3 separate regions of the Homo sapiens genome follow, and regions 2 and 3 are each linked to region 1. Evidence: promoter capture Hi-C in 16 types of primary human blood cells and fetal thymus (Javierre and others, 2016). All regions are on one chromosome and are shown on one strand. The core of a region is centred on a gene start or on the middle of the fragment in contact, and the rest is flanking DNA. Distances in the headings are between cores, read along the strand shown. Region 1 holds the start of LINC01551 (long intergenic non-protein coding RNA 1551). Region 2 has its middle 410 kb from the start of PRKD1. Region 3 has its middle 370 kb from the start of PRKD1.

The links. Contacts are between HindIII fragments. The CHiCAGO score rates a contact against its expected background, and 5 or more counts as called.
Region 2: a fragment that was not itself captured here is called in contact with the fragment with the promoter of LINC01551 in region 1 in 2 of 17 cell types (endothelial precursors and M2 macrophages); the score reaches 25.8 in endothelial precursors.
Region 3: a fragment that was not itself captured here is called in contact with the fragment with the promoter of LINC01551 in region 1 in 2 of 17 cell types (M0 macrophages and M2 macrophages); the score reaches 5.6 in M0 macrophages.

What each region holds. Positions count from the first base shown.
Region 1 is chr14:28,771,127-28,774,151 of GRCh38, forward strand. It overlaps LINC01551 (long intergenic non-protein coding RNA 1551), which reads left to right and starts at 1,578. Exons shown (of 3, transcript NR_026731.1): 1 at 1,578-1,729; 2 at 2,234-2,307. The HindIII fragment of the contact is 5,790 bases long and covers 1-3,025 here.
Region 2 is chr14:29,516,754-29,519,991 of GRCh38, forward strand. No RefSeq gene overlaps it. Among named protein-coding and RNA genes, the nearest start is that of PRKD1, 410 kb to the right of the region's middle. The HindIII fragment of the contact is 1,981 bases long and covers 441-2,421 here.
Region 3 is chr14:29,556,819-29,559,635 of GRCh38, forward strand. No RefSeq gene overlaps it. Among named protein-coding and RNA genes, the nearest start is that of PRKD1, 370 kb to the right of the region's middle. The HindIII fragment of the contact is 2,716 bases long and covers 1-2,650 here.

The DNA.
Region 1 (3,025 bases), core at 328-2,827:
TATCTCCTTTAAGCAATTAGACATGATTTTATTTTCTTAGTATAAAAACAGTTTCACCAGAGGTCCAAATTTTCTTGAAATTTAAGTTCTTCAGAATGAAGCATAAAAATATTTCACAAAAAATTATTGTGTTAAAAGTCAAATTTATGGCTGATATTAAAAATAGTAATAAAGTCCAAGTGAATGGTTTTATGCAAAGGAAATCCCCATTACACATTTTGAACCAAAATAGCTCAAAGAGAGACATGTGTCCAAGCTGAAAAAAAGGTGATGATTTATTGTTTGCTTTTGCCATGGATTTTATTTGTGGAATAAGAATGTATTATCACAGGGGAAACATAGAATTTTGCTTACCAAACGTTAAAAAGAAAGTTGAACTCTTGTGCTAAGGTAAAGGGGTATAGATATAGAAGAAAGTTTTCCTGCATGAGTATTTTTTTTGGCCACATTAAATAAGTATACTTATTTGTATTTATAAGTGTTTATTTGGGTGACAGATAAATAGAATTTTAATGGCAAACATCATACTTTGAAGTCAAGAGTAAAACTGATTTCTTTGAATTCATAGAAACGAAGTATTGGAGTGGGAGTTCTGCTTGGACCCATGTCCAAATTACATATAATGGATATGACTAGAAGTTTGTTAGGTGTACTAGACACGAAGGTGGATATATGGAGAGAGAACTTTGTAAAGGCTTCCTGAAGCCCAATATGAACATCTCATTTCCCTTGATCTATCTTATCATCCCTCAACTTATCTTCTCAAAAAACACATGACAGTCTGGCATGGCATATAATACATTTTTGCATCGAACGGGTTGTAATGTTGTGTTATTTGTTGTCTCCAACTTTGACCGTTAAAATTAGTTTATGTCAGAAATACACTTCAAAACTTTTGAGGATTATTTTCTTTCATATTATAATTGTTTTTAATAAGATGAAGGTTGTCCTTTGTGAAATTTTGGAACTGAAACTGATCACAACTTAAAACTTGAAATCCCAAATTAAAGTTTATTTCCAGGTTTAAAGTATTTTACTTGAATTTGTCTGTTGTAAAGTTAACAAAAAATATTAATATGTAAAACACTGAGAAAATGATGTAATTGAACTAGAGGAGTTAAAGTATTATTTCAAATATGTTTCTTCAGCCTGTTACAAAATTGGGAACCAAGTGAACATGAAGTCTAGAACTAACAAGGTTTAATACAAATATCCTTATGGTCATGGAAGCCTTCATGTAGTTTATGTGACTTGCATAAAATCAAAGGCAGAGAGGCAAAAATTTAGTCTCATAGTGTATTGATTTTAATATATATTTAAGTTGGTGCATATTTCACCCAAATACGTGGATAAATTCAATATATTTAGAAGTCTATAGAAGTGTAGTTTTTTAAAAAGTGTATTTTCTACAACATTGTTGAGGAATTTGCATGCACTGGGAAAATTTTGGTTTTGAGAAATTAATTTTATGAACAGCTAAAGTGGTTGGTTGTGTTTGAGACTAAAAGCCTGTTGGAGAATTAGACTAACAAAGGGTGAAGGTGAAGATCATTAGAGGTTTTAGAACTGGCTGAGATGGGTTGCTGGGGTTGTGTAACTGTGCCTAGAGGGCGGGGTTCCTGTACATTCCTACTTCACCAGATAACCTGCCCCCAACACCACTTCAGCTTCTGCCAGACAGATGGAACTCTCCAGCATGAAAATCTGCGCAGCCATTCCAACAAGCAGGGTAGGTGAAACTTGAATTAAAATTCTCCCCTCTTTATTTTTCTACTTAAGTCCAGATCCTGGAGATATGGAAAGAATAGAGGTCATCTAGATTCTCTCTTTTGGGCACACACGTCTGCATTCTTCCTAAGAGCTACCTACCTGTAAGAGTTAAAAGGTGCTAGAGATCTTTCCCAGTTAGTACTTCATGCTAGATTTTCTTTTGCGTGCATTTTTTTTTTTTTTTTAAGATTTCTTTTCTCTATACCAATCATTCCCCTTTTCTATTCTCCCTTCAGGGCCCTTTCCCCTCAATCACTAGCAGTTAAAATAACCCACCTCAGATTTTGGCTCCCAAAGGCACCCATTCCCCACCCTAGCGGTCAGTTCTAGGGACCTTATCCTGAGGATGTAGGCCAAGGGGGCTCCAGGCTGGCAAATAGATGATGTATTGTTATGTTTTGTGCCTCTTGTCTCCCTCCCGATTTCTACTGTGTTTTGTTTTTGTTTTTCCCCACCACCTAAGGCTCTGCCTGAGGTTGTCCGAAGGATGCCGAGGAAAAGGATATCAGGACTGGAATGGCTCTTACAGCAAGATCCGTAAGTGAAAGTGCTTTTCAGAGGGGAAGGGGTAGGGTAGGGAATATGTGTAACTGACTGCTTTGGACTGAGTTTTAACGCCTGACTTTGGGGTCCTGGCCTTAAGTGTTCATCTTTTCTTAGAAAATGTTAGCAGGCTCGCTACCAACAGACGTAGCTGAAAGGATGCATAATTTTTTTCCACGTTGACAGAAATCACGGTGAATCCCCAGGTCAAAAGGATGTAGACACGGCAAAGGAACATGGAGAGAAAACGAGAAAAAATTATACGGAGAAGGGGTAGTGGGAGACTGAAATAGGTCCTAAAGTGTAAATTAATTCATTTCGTGGAAATATGATTTCTGAGTCTTATGGTTGCTACAGGAACTTCCGGGACGTTCTTAACGCTCAAAGACAGGTTTATTAGCTATCCTTATTTCAGTTAAAGCTCTTTGCTCCAGAGCCAAGAACCTGCTTCTCTCTAAAGTTCTTCTTTGGATCGCCCTTCTCTATTTGCACACTAACATAGCCAACCTTCCCCAGAGCTGGCCCTCCGCCCCCAGCTCCTTGGCCTGGGTCACACCAGGGTCCCGGTCGGATTTAGCCGGGCTGCTCCGGGTCGGGTGAGGCACTGGGTGCGTGTGGGAGTCTTCTCTTCTGTCTCTTCGAAAGACTAGGGAAATGAACACCGTTCTGGGCTTGACTTTGTCCCTGCTGGGAATATCCCAGTTCCTGGCTT
Region 2 (3,238 bases), core at 181-2,680, 750 kb after region 1:
GGCCAGAATGTGACATACATCCCTCCAACCATAGCCAATTGGTCAGAACTGTTCTCATGGTCCCAACCCATTGCAAGGGTACATGAGAAATTTAAAGGTGTATGTACAATATTATGTGACCATTTCTATATCTGCCACACTCTCAAATTTCTCAACAAGGATTGTAAAATTTGTGATTCTTTAGTTATAAAGTCTGGCATTTACTGACTACTTCCTACTTATCAGGCAATTTACATATGTTAAAACTTACTACCTAGAATGATCTACCAAAACAGGCAATGTTATCCCAGTTTCATAGATGAAAAACGGTTTTAGAGAAAACCATATTCCCAACAATTATTGGAGCTAACCTCTGAATCCAGGGCTATTTAACCCAAATAACTGTTTCTCCAAGTTTTACTGTCTTTCATGAGTATGATATAATGAAAATGGTTTTCAAAAGCTTGTGCTTTAGCATAAGTAGGAAAACAAATCTGAAATGTGTTTTAATTATGTTAAAATGCCTGAAGGAAATTGTATTGTTTTCCTGTAAAAAGACTGCAGGTTATCTAAAATATAACCTCTCTTTACTTTTGATTGAAATTAAATAAAATCACATGATGACAATGATTATCTGATGTTTATTAAAAACTCTAATAGCCCATTACTTGTTTTTGCTGAAAAAATTATAAATTATTAGATAAACTGGGTAAAAATTACATAAAGATATAAGTTGGGTGTTATTGGGATAGACTGAATAATCATGAAGAGTTTTGTAGTTCCAGGATTCCCAAATTGCATAAAACACAGTGTTGGTCCATATTTGCATCTTCTTTGTTCTTGAGGATTAAATATGATCGCGTTAGCTCTCCTAATGTTTTGTTTATATGGCACCAACTCGGCAGTTATTTGAAAGCCCCAGGTGATTGAATGAAATTTTCCCTTTGCATTTGAAGTTTTCACATCAATTAATGCAATAAGAAAGTCATTGATTTAATTAATAATCACGGAAAATTCTTCTGCCTTGCCACCTCTAAATTTATCCTCAGTTAAAGAAATGGTTTCATTTATTTATTTAACTATATTCACTGAGTACCTACTGCATGCCCACCACCGTGCTAGGACTGGGGTTTCAAAGATGAATACATCAGAGGCCTTGCTTTTAAAGGGCTCAAGATATCATGAGTAAAAATATTTTAGCATTTGCTTCAGTTTATTTATTTCCCCTTAACTGAGCCCCATACCATTCTCTTTCTAGTAATTTAATTTGCCTATTTCTTAATATAACTAAGATTTTCATTATTTTATTAAGACATTTGTGCCCGTATTCTCTAAATGGCACCTGTTTTCAAAATACTTAGGAATATTAATTAGCTTGTTTTTCAGCACAAAGGAGAAAATCATGTTTTAAAAATGCAATTACCCTTTATCAGTTGAAATAATAGGATTTATTTTAAATATTTGTTTTTCAATGGTATACAAACAAATGCTAGAAACAAAATATAAGTAGTTTTTTCAGCTGATATTATTTTTTAGGATCTCAATATTTTGGAGAAATGAGTTCCTCACATCTAAAATTTATAAATACGTGCCGGTTTTCATTTGATGCAAACTTCTAAAAAACAACCAATTTTCTGGAGCAGAATTAATATAAAAGAAAAATTTTAGAGACTGTCTTTTTCATCTTTTCATTTTTAATTAATTAATTATTCTTAGTTTGCTTCTGAGAATTGGAAATGCCTTTCAGTATTTTCAAATGTAGAAAAAACGTAGAGTTAATCCATAAATGCCCTCTTGTGACAATCTCCAAAAATGCAACTGCCTTTTCCTTCATTTGCTACACTTTTCCTTTTTTTCTAAAACAATTTCATATATCCAAAGTGTAACAGTTTTGATTTAAAAAAATCAGTTTTATATTTTATCTGATGAAACTAACTCATCTATTTTTAATAAGCTATGGGGTGTATTGCAATTTAGACAGAAAAACGTGTGACAATACTATTTCTTCTGGCTTAGGAAAGACTTTCCTTCTACTGTCACTGATCTCCACTTTGGTGGTGTAAGTACATGGTGGAGTACATGGTGAGGGAGTTTGTAGATGTGAAAAGATTCTTTTTCAATCTTTTCTTGAAAACTTCCAGAGTCATAGAACATTTTCCAGTGAGATAGTTAAATATAATAAACACATTGAATTAGCCCTAGTCATTCCTTCACAATTATTGATAATTTTAATAAATGATCTCAGTTATATTGTGTAGTCATCTTTGGAGTTCCCAGAAGCAAATGTTAATTTTAAATTTTAAAATAAAACCAACAATTACTAAAGCAGTCCAATGACTTGCCCAGAGTAAAAAGTGAGTGCATCACTGTATGATCCATGGGCCAACACTGACTTTCTATGGGTTTTAAACATACATGTATTCAGAAGGCGGAAGACAGCAAAGCTTTTCAAAGGGCACTTGGTGTATATTTCTTAAAGTTTATTTCTGAACCTTTGCTTTATGCCAAGAATATCTAACTTTCTCTGGTTTTAGAACACAAAAAGAATGTTGAAGACTGTTTTCTTTTCAAAATTTAGGTTAAAACAGCTTTCCATGAAGAAATAAATCTTAAAATTTTTCTTAAGAAGATGCTATAATGTAGAACTATGAAAATAGCCAGACCTATGTTTGGACAAGTAGTTACTAGATTTAAAAATTACACACACACACACACACACACACACACATCAGTTTCTTTTTCTGAAAAAGGAGAGCAATAGTAACCTAATTACAGAGCTTTAGTGAGATTTACATGATATTTGTATAGCCCTTGCCCTTAGTAGAAGCTTAACACTATAGCCATTATTATTTGTAAAAAGTTTATGGCCCAGCGCTGTGGCTCACGCCCATAATCCCAGCACTTTGAAAGGCCGAAGCGGGCGAATCACGAGGTCAGGAGTTCAAGACTAACCTGGCCAATAAGGTAAAACCGCCCCCTGCTAAAAATACAAAAAATTAGCTGGGCATGGTGGTGCACACCTGTAATCCCAGCTACTCAGGAGGCTGAGGCAGGAGAATCACTTGAACCCGGGAGGCGGAGGTTGCAGTGAGCCGAGGTCATGCCACTGCACTCCAGCCTGGGCAACAGTGCAAGACTCCATTTCAAAAAAACAAAAAAAAAGTTTAAATTTGTGATATGGACTAAAAAAAAATGCCATCTGACTTCATTTTGTGGCTAAGATGGCCACACATCAGTAACTATTCATTACTTCATCACT
Region 3 (2,817 bases), core at 43-2,542, 790 kb after region 1:
GGTTAATCTTGTTCTCTCTGGGAGAAGAGGCGGCAGGATACCTTTTGTGTTTGTAAATGTGTGTCATGCTTTTAGACAAATAGAGGAGAGCAGAGAGCTTTCTTGCATCTGCTGCTTTTTGTCTTCAACTCACCTATTCTTCATATTTTAGGGTGGCATATTCTGGCTCCCCACAAACCCCAGGCAGGGACCTTTCTGGGCCTCAGTGTTTCACACCTGCTACAGCAGCTGTTAGGCCCTTCCTACGCAACTAGAAGGACTTACTCTCCAAGCCTAAATTTGAAGGAGAAGAAATGATGAGTATAAACACCAGCTTTGAGGCAGATTCAGAATGAGCTCTTGTGATCCTTCGCCAGACCTTTGTCTCTTACAAATAAACACAGTCTTACGTAAAATTCCCTGCACACTTTTGAGAAATGTTAAGAAGAGTTGAAGAAAGAAAACCATGTCAAGGATCCTGTGTTCTAATTAATGTTGCCATTGGATCTCTTAAAATAGGAAGGCAGGCCCTGTGCTTTGGTGTAGCATGACTCAAATTGGTTGTGGTGAAAAATCACTTTTAAAAAAGTTTCTAATTCATTGCATAGTTATACTTTTGGAAAACATACTAAAATGAATTGCTATAAGAATAAAATAAAAAGGACAATAAAATACAATTCCAATTTTTTTATTATTATATTCAACAGCATACAATTACTCTACTAAATTGTTTTAAATATTCCTAAGCATTTACTTTCAATTTTTGTACTTATTTTGTAGTGCCCAATGACCAGCCCTACTCCATAGATTTCACTTTTTATAACACTAGTTTAGTGTCTTGATTAGAAAGTTAATTTTATGAATACGTGAAAGCTACTGATTGTTTTAATTAAGAAACTTTTTTTTCCTCAGCAGTGAATGATTCCTGCAGAAACCTCTCTTTATGACCTTCTCTATTTAACGTTAGAGGTTAAAAATCTGGGGGTTGGGAGGAGAATTGTGTGAATAAATTCAGCTGATATAACACACATTTTAAAGTATCAATGGGGCGGCCGGGTGCGGTGGCTCACGCCTGTAATCCCAGCACTTTGGGAGGCCAAGGCGGGCGGATCACGAGGTCAGGAGATCGAGACCATCCTGGCTAACATGGTGAAACCCCGTCTCTACTAAAAAAATACAAAAAAATAGCCTGGCGAGGTGGCGGGAGCCTGTAGTCCGAGCTACTCGGGAGGCTCAGGTGGGAGAATGACGTGAACCCGGGAGGCGGAGCTTGCAGTGAGCAGAGATTGCGCCACTGCACTCGAGCCTGGGCGACATAGAGAGACTCAGTCTCAAAAAAAAAAAAAGTATCAATGGGGCTTTAAAATTGTTTTGATTCCCAGAGTATTTCCTTGGCCCATCTCAGAAGTAGTAATATCACCTCATTGTCAACTAATCCTTATTTCTCCCTATACTTGGGGTAATATAAGTTAAGCCAGTAGTAATAACAATCAGGTTCAAATTTTTTCCAGAAGTGTGCAACATCATGTATGCTGAAACAAAGCAAAACAAAATAGAGAACTTAGAACATGTGTAGTGATTAACACTTTGGACTCTGGAGGCAGAGTACCTGGGTTCAAATTCTGACCCCATTAGCAATTAGCTATGTGACCTTGGGCAATTTACTTAATATCTTTGTACCAGAGTTCACTTATCTTTTGTGGAAATATATAGAACGTCTACCAAACTCTCATAGAATTATGACAAAGGTTAAATGAAATGCTTGAGTTTTTGGCACCTTAGCTACCTAAGTGTTACATATAATTATTGTTTGGACATTTATATTAGGCTCTAGACTAAAGCATACTTTCAAGATTGGTTTGATGACTAGGACTCGAGAAATCTAAACTTTGGTTTCTGGTTACAGTCAAAATTGGGTAAACACATTCCACCCTGTCTCTTCCCCCAAATGCAACTAAAAGCCCTCGACATACTGCACAGGGCAGCTATCCGAGGATACTGAAGATTAAATGGTAGCAGGCCTACTGGATAAAGAAACCAGAACTTGAATCATCACCAAATCAGCAATGAATTGCCCATTCTAATTCTCTAACATCTTCTGGGAATGAACTCAACGACAGCCTAAAATGTGAGAGTGCCCATTGAATGTCAGCAGGAAAACCTCCAAGAGAAACTCTATTTCTTGACTAAGGAGCAGAAAGGAGGCCCACTGGAGTGAGAGAGACTGGGGAAATCTCGTGTTGTCATTTTTTCTCCCTTTACTGTTGTTTCTCACCCGAGCCACCGAGGCAATCCTGAAACAGCTGTGACAGCAGTGGCAGTGACTGTCAGGCAGTCACTAATAACTCTAAATGAGGGAACCCTTTTCTTTTGCCAGATGAACTGTGGTCCCAAAAGTATGAAAGGTGCCCCATTGTTACTTTTTCTCTATGTATCCTGCTGGTTGGTCCTGGAGAAATTCAGAGTCATAGTAATTATGAAGAGGAGTAGAAAATCTAAATCCCTGGCTTTCTAGCCAGAAGATCACAAAAGGGATTTCTGAAAAACAGAATGTATCAGGAAGATCATAGAGAGGAGGGAGCTCAAGAAAGTAACTCCGGAAGTTGGGTATAAACTTCTGGGCTCGGTCTCAGTTTATAATACCTAGATCTGACTCTAAGCAGCTTATCAAAGCTTTTGAGAACTAGATTATGGGGTAAACTACCTGGGTCCTAAACTGATACTGGGTGGTGCACACAAAAGACAGATCCAAATAGCACTGCAAAGATTTTAAAAACTGAACCCTTTTTCAGAATTACAGCCCACAGAAGGCAAGTAGAAATTTGCAGGCTGAATTTA